Linked DNA regions of Homo sapiens: regions 2, 3 and 4 are each linked to region 1. Evidence: promoter capture Hi-C in 16 types of primary human blood cells and fetal thymus (Javierre and others, 2016). All regions are on one chromosome and are shown on one strand. Each heading gives the region's core, a stretch centred on a gene start or on the middle of the fragment in contact. The rest is flanking DNA. Distances are from core to core; before and after follow the strand shown. Region 1 holds the start of CSTF2T (cleavage stimulation factor subunit 2 tau variant). Region 2 overlaps BMS1 (BMS1 ribosome biogenesis factor). Region 3 holds the start of UBE2D1 (ubiquitin conjugating enzyme E2 D1). Region 4 overlaps IPMK (inositol polyphosphate multikinase).

What was found. Contacts are between HindIII fragments. The CHiCAGO score rates a contact against its expected background, and 5 or more counts as called.
Region 2: a contact is called between a fragment that was not itself captured here and the fragment with the promoter of CSTF2T in region 1, in 1 of 17 cell types (monocytes). The highest score is 7.5, in monocytes.
Region 3: a contact is called between the fragment with the promoter of UBE2D1 here and the fragment with the promoter of CSTF2T in region 1, in 1 of 17 cell types (activated CD4 T cells). The highest score is 10.3, in activated CD4 T cells.
Region 4: a fragment that was not itself captured here is called in contact with the fragment with the promoter of CSTF2T in region 1 in 2 of 17 cell types (total B cells and non-activated CD4 T cells); the score reaches 7.9 in total B cells.

The regions. Positions count from the first base shown.
Region 1 is chr10:51,698,284-51,700,884 of GRCh38, reverse strand. CSTF2T (cleavage stimulation factor subunit 2 tau variant) reads left to right here and starts at 1,290. Exons shown (of 1, transcript NM_015235.3): 1 at 1,290-2,601. The coding sequence starts at 1,336. The region is part of intron 3 of PRKG1 (protein kinase cGMP-dependent 1); the gene reads right to left. RefSeq lists a silencer at 162-456 and enhancers at 210-898, 1,023-1,602. The HindIII fragment of the contact is 5,025 bases long and covers 278-2,601 here.
Region 2 is chr10:42,784,012-42,786,612 of GRCh38, reverse strand. It overlaps BMS1 (BMS1 ribosome biogenesis factor), which reads right to left. Exons shown (of 23, transcript NM_014753.4): 2 at 2,043-2,251; 3 at 941-1,131. The coding sequence starts at 2,218. Among named protein-coding and RNA genes, the nearest start is that of BMS1, 2.5 kb to the right of the region's middle. The HindIII fragment of the contact is 1,222 bases long and covers 672-1,893 here.
Region 3 is chr10:58,333,722-58,336,322 of GRCh38, reverse strand. It overlaps UBE2D1 (ubiquitin conjugating enzyme E2 D1), which reads right to left and starts at 1,317. Exons shown (of 7, transcript NM_003338.5): 1 at 1,098-1,317. The coding sequence starts at 1,121. RefSeq lists a silencer at 933-1,452 and enhancers at 1,260-1,554, 1,153-1,653. The HindIII fragment of the contact is 6,404 bases long and covers 1-2,601 here.
Region 4 is chr10:58,262,085-58,264,685 of GRCh38, reverse strand. All of the region lies in intron 1 of IPMK (inositol polyphosphate multikinase), which reads left to right. Among named protein-coding and RNA genes, the nearest start is that of IPMK, 4.5 kb to the left of the region's middle. The HindIII fragment of the contact is 3,933 bases long and covers 1-2,601 here.

The DNA.
Region 1 (2,601 bases), core at 41-2,540:
AGAACACAATTTATTATTGCAAAAGTAGATTCTATATCCAAGTTGTTCTAAATACTAAAAAAGTTTTCCAATAGCTTACTGAACATTAGTTTTTATATTTAAATAAAAAATGAGATTTAAAATTCATTTCTTCAATCACACTAGCTTCATTTCATATATTCAATACACGTAAGGCAGTGTAGAATTGGAGCTATGCGAGACCAAGCTGGGTTAGAATCCTGACTTGGCCTCTTTCCAGCTGCTTGTCCTTGGGAATTTACCTAGCCCTCTCCAAGCTTCAGTTCTAGCTTCGAATTGCAGGCGGGGAAACACCACACTGAATATGTTTTAACTCCTACCTGCAAAGCTAACAGCAGAAGACAAACACCCGCTATTTGTTTCTCCCTTCATGGAAGTGGTGGACTCACTGCATGATATAATAAAAATCAGAACCAATCAACGTAGGGATAGTTAAGTAAATTTCTTTATTCCATACTCTGAAGCCATAAAATACTAATAACTAATTAATCACTAATTTATTTAATCACCAATTAATATTGAAATCGGTTGTTATTAAGGAAGAAAACCGTAATATTAGGAATAGCACGACGGCTGCCCGTGTGCTCAGGAAAAACCTAGAAGGGTCTGCCACCCATCCATTAACAGCGGTTATAGGAAGCAACAGAATGGGGGCAGGGCCCAGCCGGCACACGCTTCAGTTTATATTTCTTGTCAGTTAATTTCCAAAAACGTTGTTCTAAAAAGGAGATATAATACTGTTTTAGTTTAAGGGGCAAATCTCAAATGTGCTGAAACGACTACGCTTTTCCCTCAGTCTGGAATGTGATTTTAAATCTAGCTTAACTATACTATAATAAAAGGCCACATGAAAATACTTTGTCAGAACGAAAAACACGCCGCCTTAAATCCGCTTTCGGTTGGCGGTTTCCCGCCAGCGGAACGGAAGCAAAACCGCCTTTGACGTCAAGGGAAGAGTCCCCTCCCAGTTACTACGGTGAAGTCTATGCGGCCATCTTTACTGTGGTCATCTCGTACCAAGCGTGTCGTAGTGGGGCTGTTGGGGCCCCACAGAAAGTCAGCGGAACGTGAAATGGGAAAGGAATCATGCGACTCTGTAATAAGAAGCTGACAGAACCATGAAGGATCAGGGACTGAAAGCATTAGATAAGTTGTTAGTGGGATGCAGGTTCCACAGGCAAGCGGAACGATTCAAGCGAATTAGTAAAGTTTCTGCCCGGATCTTGAAAGCCGCTTCCGTTGCTCAGCGGAAGTGTCGGTCGCAAGAGGACAGACGCCTCGAAGAATCCGCTATCGGCTGTCTGCACAACCGGAATCATGTCGAGTTTGGCGGTGAGAGACCCGGCAATGGATCGATCACTGCGTTCCGTGTTCGTGGGGAACATTCCATATGAGGCAACTGAGGAGCAGTTAAAGGACATTTTCTCGGAGGTTGGTTCTGTTGTCAGTTTCCGGCTGGTATACGATAGAGAGACGGGAAAACCCAAGGGCTATGGCTTCTGCGAATACCAAGACCAGGAGACCGCGCTTAGTGCCATGCGGAACCTCAATGGGCGGGAGTTCAGTGGGAGAGCGCTTCGGGTGGACAATGCTGCCAGTGAAAAGAATAAGGAGGAGTTAAAGAGCCTTGGGCCTGCAGCGCCCATTATTGACTCACCCTATGGGGATCCCATCGATCCAGAAGATGCCCCTGAATCGATTACCAGAGCAGTAGCCAGTCTCCCCCCGGAGCAGATGTTTGAGCTGATGAAGCAGATGAAGCTCTGTGTCCAAAACAGCCACCAGGAAGCTCGAAACATGTTACTTCAAAATCCACAACTGGCTTATGCACTGTTGCAGGCACAAGTAGTGATGAGAATCATGGATCCAGAGATTGCTCTGAAAATTCTGCATCGGAAGATACATGTCACACCACTGATCCCAGGCAAATCTCAGTCTGTGTCTGTCTCTGGCCCTGGCCCTGGCCCTGGCCCTGGGCTCTGCCCAGGACCTAATGTTCTGCTGAACCAGCAGAATCCTCCAGCTCCTCAGCCTCAGCATTTGGCTAGAAGACCTGTGAAGGACATTCCTCCTCTGATGCAGACTCCTATCCAGGGTGGAATTCCAGCTCCAGGGCCAATACCAGCTGCAGTTCCCGGAGCTGGTCCTGGTTCCTTAACTCCTGGAGGAGCAATGCAGCCCCAACTTGGAATGCCAGGGGTTGGCCCAGTGCCTTTAGAGCGGGGACAAGTGCAGATGTCAGATCCTAGAGCTCCTATACCTCGCGGACCCGTGACTCCTGGTGGTCTGCCTCCTCGAGGACTGTTAGGAGATGCTCCAAATGACCCACGTGGAGGGACTTTGCTTTCAGTCACTGGAGAAGTGGAGCCCAGAGGTTATCTGGGTCCACCCCATCAGGGTCCCCCCATGCATCATGCCTCTGGTCATGACACTCGTGGCCCTTCCTCACATGAGATGAGGGGAGGGCCATTAGGAGATCCCAGACTGCTAATTGGAGAGCCCAGAGGCCCCATGATAGATCAAAGGGGTCTACCTATGGATGGTAGAGGTGGTAGAGATTCTCGAGCGATGGAGACTCGTGCC
Region 2 (2,601 bases), core at 33-2,532, 8.9 Mb after region 1:
TCTCTACAGAAAAAAAAAAAAAAGGAAAAAAAAGAAAAATTAGCCAGGCGTGGTGGCATACACTACTCAGGAGGCTAAGGTAGGAGGAATGCTTGAACCTGGGAGGTAGAGGCTGCAGTGAGCCGTAATCACACCACTGCACTCCAGCCTGTACCACAGAGTAAGACTCTGTCTCAAAAAAGGGAAAAGAAAATATGGATGCTCCAAAGATAAAGAAAAGCCTCAATCCAACTATATTATTGCAATAACAAGAGATTTCAGAGTGTACATTGCCATTCTACCACTGGAAGTTTGTTTCATTTTCCCTCAAACTCGGAAAGGTCACCATCTCCCAAAGCAGACAATTCTCACAGGAAAAAGAGAAAACTCGCACTTCCACCAGAATGTGGCTTCATAAGGCAAGCATATGCACCTGGCACATAGGAGGTGCGTGCTATCTGTTAAATGATGTGTTCACGGTGACTAGGCCTGCTAGGCCCTTCCAAGGAACATGTTTGGCAAAGCCAAAGAGCAGTCAGGATAAGACATAGTGAACATTATCATTTCTCATACAAAAAATGGAGGAGGAAACCAGGAAGAAAAGGAAAGCATCACCTTAAGAGGCTGGACCACACATCCTTCTACACGGAGGAAGAGGACTGTGGCTGGTGTCGCAATCGAGCAGCAAAGCTTGATTTTCCAGCCCGAGTGCTGGGTTCGAGTATCTTCCTGCCTTGGAACCTCCCAGAGTGCTGGGAGGAAATGTGAACATTATCACATCCTTATCTCTGGGAACTTACCCTTTTCTGAAGCTATAGCCAACTTAGTAATACTAAGTATAAGAGAAGTCCCATGATATGACAATATTTAACATGTTCCACTCAAGAAAACAACAAACGCATGCATGTCCCTCAGATGACAACAGCCACGCCAACTCTGTGTCTGTGGTGGCATCTCCTACCTGACACAATCGTCACAGGGCCTCTGATCTCAGTCAACTTCTGCCGGGTAAAGTTCCGAATGAGGCATTGTATCAAAGTGCTCTTTCCAACTTTTGGAGGTCCCATCACCACTACCACTATTGGTGGGGGCTCTAGTGGAGTTCGATCAACCACTGGAATATGATGCTTTTTTGTCTTCAAATCCTGAGTCCTATTCATTAAAAAATAAACAAATAAATAAATAGTAAACTCATTTTCAAAATAGAGTAAAAGGTATCAACCTTATAAGTAGACTTTTTTGGTACACTTATAGCTATGAGTACTTTAGCACATTTTATAGAGAGTACAACAGACAATATATAAATATAATTAACTTGTCAATTATTAACTTGCTAACTTCTGGCCCCATCCAAATAATTGCTGTTCAATAAAGATGTAACAAGATGACTTCAATACTATAGAGAGCGAAAATTAAACACTCCTTAAATCTGACTGTTTTAAGAGTGATTTTAATAGTTTTTTAAAAAACCAAAAGGTAAATAGCGAGGCAGTACATCATAGCAGATAAGAGCAGAGGCGCTGGAGTTACATTTAGCTCTCCTACTTACTGGTTATATGATTGGAGGTAACTTGTTTTCTTGATCTCAGTTTTCTTACCCATAAAATGAGGGCAAGAATGATTCCTACTCTGGTAAGGCTGCTGGAAGGATTTAGTTGAATAATGTTTAAAGTACACTGCTAGGCATATCACAAGGGCTCACTAAATAAAGCTATGTTAGTATTAAATATTGTAATTTTTGTATTTTATATTACAACTATGTAAAACATACCTGGGGGGAAAAAGCACACTTATCACCATAGAAACAGTTTAAAATTTAGGAACAAACAAAGTCTATAAATTCTTGTATCCTGGGCAATAAACACTAACCAGTATGCAGATGCTGGAGGCAAGGCAGCTTCTATGGGAAAAGCTTCTCACGTTTTAGTGAAAGCCACACACCATGAATCTCCATGTCCTTTGGAGCTGGACTAGACTCGTGAATCCAAATGTCACCTGTGAGAGGCTCCTACTATTTAAAAAAAGAATCAATGGAAGAATGACCAGACCGTAGCCTAACATACCTGTGAAAGGATCGAGCCATCCGCACAGCAGACTGAACTGCAAAAGCTTTGGGATTTCTCTTCCGGGCATCTTCTTCGTCTCCTAGCTGGAGATCCTGCAGAAGCCGCTTCTTTTTCTTTGCAGCTTTGGGTCCACTGTTTTTCTTTCTGTGTTTCTTCTGGTCCTTAGCCTCCATAGTGGCTATTTACCAATAACAAGTAACTCTAACCTACAAGGAAGAAGGTTGGGGTAAGGAGATGGGAGAAGCATTTTACAATCCAGGCAATACCCAGGGAAAAACAGTAAATTTCATTTATTTCTTTATGAAGAGATGATGTATTTGTTCACTGAACAAGGGTAGAAACTGCTTAACCATCCCCAATTTCATTTCTCTCTGTTATGCTATAAATTAGATGAGTTACCTCTCTTAAGATTACATTTTATGGTTAAGTTACTTTTTATTCATCTTAAGTGTCAACATCAGCAGTATCTATTTCTGCAAGGATAGAAATATACTATATCTGTACTTTTCAGCCATTTAGCCATTAGCCACATGTGGTTACTTACAATATACTTAGG
Region 3 (2,601 bases), core at 68-2,567, 6.6 Mb before region 1:
GAAACAACTACAAAATACACTGTCCATTGTTGCTTAACTTAGTGAAAAGCACTCCCTATTTAACAAACACATTCTCAATGTTGCCAGTGTGAACTGTAACTGTAAAACCTAAAACTTGGGTCAGTACACAGACCAACAAGAAATAAAAATGAACAGAAAGAAATGCCCGAATCTGAATTCTGAAGGATGTTCGCATCTGAAATGGTGGCAATAAATACTGTGAAAAAAAGACGATTCCATACACAGGGTTGAGATGGGTAAACAGTTGTTGGATGAAGATATATATTTCTTCCTCATTCTATACCCATGTGTCAAAGCATCAAAACAATTTATTTGCGACAGTTTATGTTGTGTCTCGAACTTTACATCTAAGTTTATCATGAGGGGGAAAAAAACCTGTTTGGCTTGACTCACCGTGAATCACAGCCAGGAGGTCATCTTGTTGTGTATCAGCAACTATGTTTTCGCTACAGCTATGTGACCTGAAGTGGCAGCAGCAGAGGCACCAAAATAGAAGGGGCAGGAGCCTTCTCCTGACTTCTTGGCCGCAAATGGGCTTTCCAGCCCATTCGGGCAACTGAGCAAGAGCCAACCGCAGAGGAGAGAAAGAACCAACCCGACAGCTCCGCGGAGAAAGGCTGCAGGCCCACCCCACCTTCCTTGCCCTCCCGGGGAGGCCGGGTAAGCAAGAACATAAAAGAGGACAGGCTTAAGAAACAGCCTGGAGAAAACACAGCATGACAGGGGTCAAAACTAGCCCCATGGAGGGCAAAACCCGGCCGTGACCGTGAAGCACAGATTTCGGGACGGTCTGGACGCGCAAGAGGCTCTCTACCCTGGGGCTCCGGGAGCGGCTCCGGCGCGAACGCGCGCGGGCCCCCAGCCTTCAAGCTCCTCCGGCCGCCTGGGACCTGACCCTGCTCCCACCTCACCTGTCCGATGCCCGCTGGCCCGGCCCGAGCCTTCAGCTCCCTGCCCGCACCCCGGCCCACCCTTCCATCCCTTGCTCTCCCCGCATGTCTCTCGGGACCACTGGCCGAGTCAGCGTGGGCAGGGGGCCGCTGCCCCGCAGCCCCAGGCCCGGCCCCGGCACTCACTTTCTGAATCCTCTTCAGCGCCATGGGTCAGGGATGGCGGTGGGGACACCGGCCGGCAGGGGTCGGCTGCGGGGCTCAGGGGCGTGGGTCGTCGCGGGTTGGGCTCGCTGGCAGCTAGGCTGGCTCCGCGCGGTGGGTCCCCGGTTAGCCGCTCCCTGGCTCGCTCCGGGCGCCGGTCCCTGCTCCGTGTGCGCCCGAGCGCGAGTGTGCGCGAGTGTGCGGGCGGGGACGCCGGCGAGACTCTTTTGTTTCCGCTTTTGCTTCTGGGAAGGAGCCTGCGCCCTCCCCGCCGCGCCCCGCCCCGCCTGGCACACTGGGAAGTGTAGTTCCAGCCCTGTCCTCGGCTGCAGGCCCCCGGACGCTGCCAGGTAACTTACTGCTGACCTCAGCCAGGCAGCTTAAGGTGAGAGCTGCCGGGGGCTGGAATTAGCCTCTACAGTCTCATTTAGAGCAAATTGCTGAACCTGGGGCTGCGCATCTGTAAAATGGGGATAACAAATGAGCTCCTAACGCACATAAAGGAATTTCTAAATCATCAGTTAGTAATTCCTTATCCAATAGGTGCCACAGCTGGTTTTATTATTTTTACCTTTAAAGATTTCACTGTCTTTTCTCAAATATATGGATTGTCTCACTCACCCTGCACACATGCACAAACTCATATCAGACCCCCTACTTACCTCCTTGGTTCTTATTGCAGAGGAAAAAGGTGTCTCTTCTGTCCAATGTGCAAATCTTCCTTGTCTGAGTGCATTGTCTGCTCGTAGGTATGCCCCTCCCATAAATTACCCACTTCGAACACCGAGTTCTGGGCTCTCACTCCCATCATTGGTTCCTTCCCTTCCGTTGACAGTCCCTGACCAATAGTCAACTCACGCTCCCCACTCTCCAATTCCTATGCACTTGTGTACCCATTAAAACTTGGCTTCTTGGCCAAGATGAGATTTGGGTGGGGACACAGCCAAACCATATCACTCAGGGATATAAAGATGGCAACAAATAGACACTGTGGACTACTAGAGAGGGGACCGAGGGAGCAAAGGTTGAAAAACTGTTGGGTACTATTGTCAGTACCTGGGTGATAAAATCATTCATACCACAAATGTCAGCATCACACAGCATACCCAGGTAGCAAACTTGCATATGTGGCCTCTAAATCTAAAATAAAAGTTGAAAAACAAAAACAAACAAACAAAAACAGAATCTTGAGCCCCACTCCAGACATGCTACATCACACTTTGCAGTTTAATAAGACTCCTAGGTGATTCAGATGAACATTAGGGTTTGAGAAGCACTATGCTGGAAGGCATAAGAGGAGATCCTAAAAATGCAGATTTCCTTTAAAGGATTTAATTTAGCAGTAAGTTTTGGGTGAAGCTCTGGAGTCTAAACTTTAGAACAAACTTCCCAGGAAGTTAGGATGCAGGTATCTGAGGACACTTTTGAGAATCTCCACCTTGAGCAAATCTTCAAATCCTTCTAAGCCTCAATTTCCTCACCCATA
Region 4 (2,601 bases), core at 46-2,545, 6.6 Mb before region 1:
TGTTTGCTGTGATAAGTAATGTACTTATTAAACATTCTTGTATATAATAGCATACCTTGCACGTTGTGTACCTATCTCTGTAGGAAGTTTTCGCAAAAAAAAGATCAATATAAATTCCCAAAACTCACCAAAGTTAGCATAAAATTCTTTTAATATGTATCATTAAGTTCTTTAAAAAGTCCTTAAAGTTTTAAACAAATGATGGAAATCTGATATTTCTTGATCTGATGTAGGATGTAGAAATGGGGTAGTCTATAGGGAAAACAAGGATTTAAACTGATAATTGTTGTGGGGGAGAAAGACCTACAATTATCTTGGCTTAGTAGTCTCTTTTTATTAGATATCCTCTGAAACTAATTAACCTAAAATAATTTCAAGCCTACAGAAAAGTTGCAAGAACAATAGAAAAGTAACATTTTGCAAAATTTGTTTTATTATCTCTCAATGCAAATAATTTTTCTTAACTATTTGCAAGTAGGTTGCATACATTATGCCACTTTACATGTTAATACTAAAGTGTGTCTTCCTTAAGAACAAGGATATTCTCTTCTGTAGCCACAGCACATTGATCAACTATGGGAAATTTAACAGGGATATAATACTTTAATCTATAGTCCATAGTCTCACTTTGTCAACTGTTCCAATACTGTAATGTCTTTTATCACATTTGTTTTTCTCAGTACAGGATCTGGTCCAGAATCATTTATTGCAATTAGTTGTTATGTCTTTTAGTGTCCTTTCATTTGTAACATATCCTCAGCCTTTCCCTGTCCTTTATGACATTGTCATTTTGAAGAGTACAGGCCAGTTATTTTATGAAATGTTCTTTAATTTGGGTTTCTGATAGTTCCTTACGATGGGATTCAGATGATACTTTTCCAGCTGGAACATTGTGTAAGTGGAGGCCAACAATAGCTGCCCTTTGGTAGTGGATTATTTCTGGTTGTCTGATTCAAGTGTAGTCTGGCTTCTTCAGTATATCGTTTTGTTTGTTTGTTTTTTGAGACAGGCTCTTGCTGTGTCACCTAGGCTGGAGTGCAGTGGCGTGATGTAGTTCACTGCAGCCTCAAACTTCAGGGCTCAAGCAATCCTCCTGCCTCAGCCTCCTGAGTAGCCGGGAGTATAGGTGCACACCACTAGGCCAGGCTAATTTTTTTTTTTTTTAACGGAGTCTTGCTCTGTTGCCCAGGCTGGAGAACAGTGGCGCGGTCTTGACTCACTGCAACCTCCGCCTCCCAGGTTCAAGTGATTCTCGTGCCTCAGCCTCTTAAGTAGCTAGGATTACAGGAGTGCACCACCATGCCTGGCTAATTTTTGTATTTTTAGTAGAGACGGGGTTTTGCCATGTTGGCCAGGCTGGTCTTGAGCTCCTGGCCTCAGGTGATCCACCCACCTCTGCCTGCCAAAGTGCTGGGATTACAGGCATGAACCACTGCTGGGCCAGGCTAATTTTAAAATTTTTTGTAGAGATGGGATCTGGCTTTGTTGCCCAGGCTGGTCTTGAACTACTGGCTTCAAGTGATCCTTCTGCTTCAGCCTCCCAAAGTGCTAGGATTACAGGAATGAGTCACCATGCCTGGCTTCAGTATATAGTTAATGTTTTCTGTTCTACATTTAATAAGCTATATGTGAGGAGACACTTTACAGTCATGCAGCTATCTGGATTCTCATCAACTTCATCCCTAGATTTGGCATCTGTTGATTCTTGCCTGAAGCTGTGTTTATTCTGATAGTTACAAAATTGTGATTTTTTCCCCCCATTCTTTCACTCCCTCTGCTTTAACAGCTAGCATTCCAAGAAATAGCTCTTCCTTTACCCTTAAGTATTTATGTCCTTATTTATAATCAGTTTGCATCATGGATTCCTATTTGATAACATGTATCATTACCCATTATGGAACTTATTTATTGGACTTTAATCACATCTCAATGTTTTTAAAAAAGGAACTTATTTATTTTGTTGCTCAAATGGTCCCAAATTTGACCATTGAGAGCACTTCCTTTCTGTCATAACAGATTTTTTAGAATTATCTCATAACTTTCTTCCCCAGCCCTAGAGTCAACCATTTCTTCAAGGAGCCCTGGTTTCTTTTTAGTGGAAAATGGTATTTAGAAACCAAGATCTGTGTTACTAGGTATTGTCATAACTGTTGGAGTATCATTTCTTCCAGGACTTTTCAATGGACATGATTTTTAAAGTATGTATAAATATTTTAGAAATTATAATTTCATATTTCAAATTTCATTTAAACCCGAGTTCTTCCTTTCCCTTGATTCTAAATTTGTATTTCCCTTCTTCTGTAGTAAGAACCCTGGCTCCCAGTGATATTAATATGTTTATTCTTTTGCTTAATCTTACAATTTTCAGAATTTCTACACCCATACTACTTCAGAAAACAAGCCTAGAATAAAGAATTCAGGATGAGATTTTTTTATTTATTTATTATACTTTAAGTTCTGGGGTACATGTGCACAACGTGCAGGTTTGTTACATATGTATACATGTGCAGTGTTGGTTTGCTGCACTCGTTAACTAGTCATTTACATTAGGTATTTCTCCTAATGCTATCCCTCCCCCATCCCCCCAACCCCACGACAGGC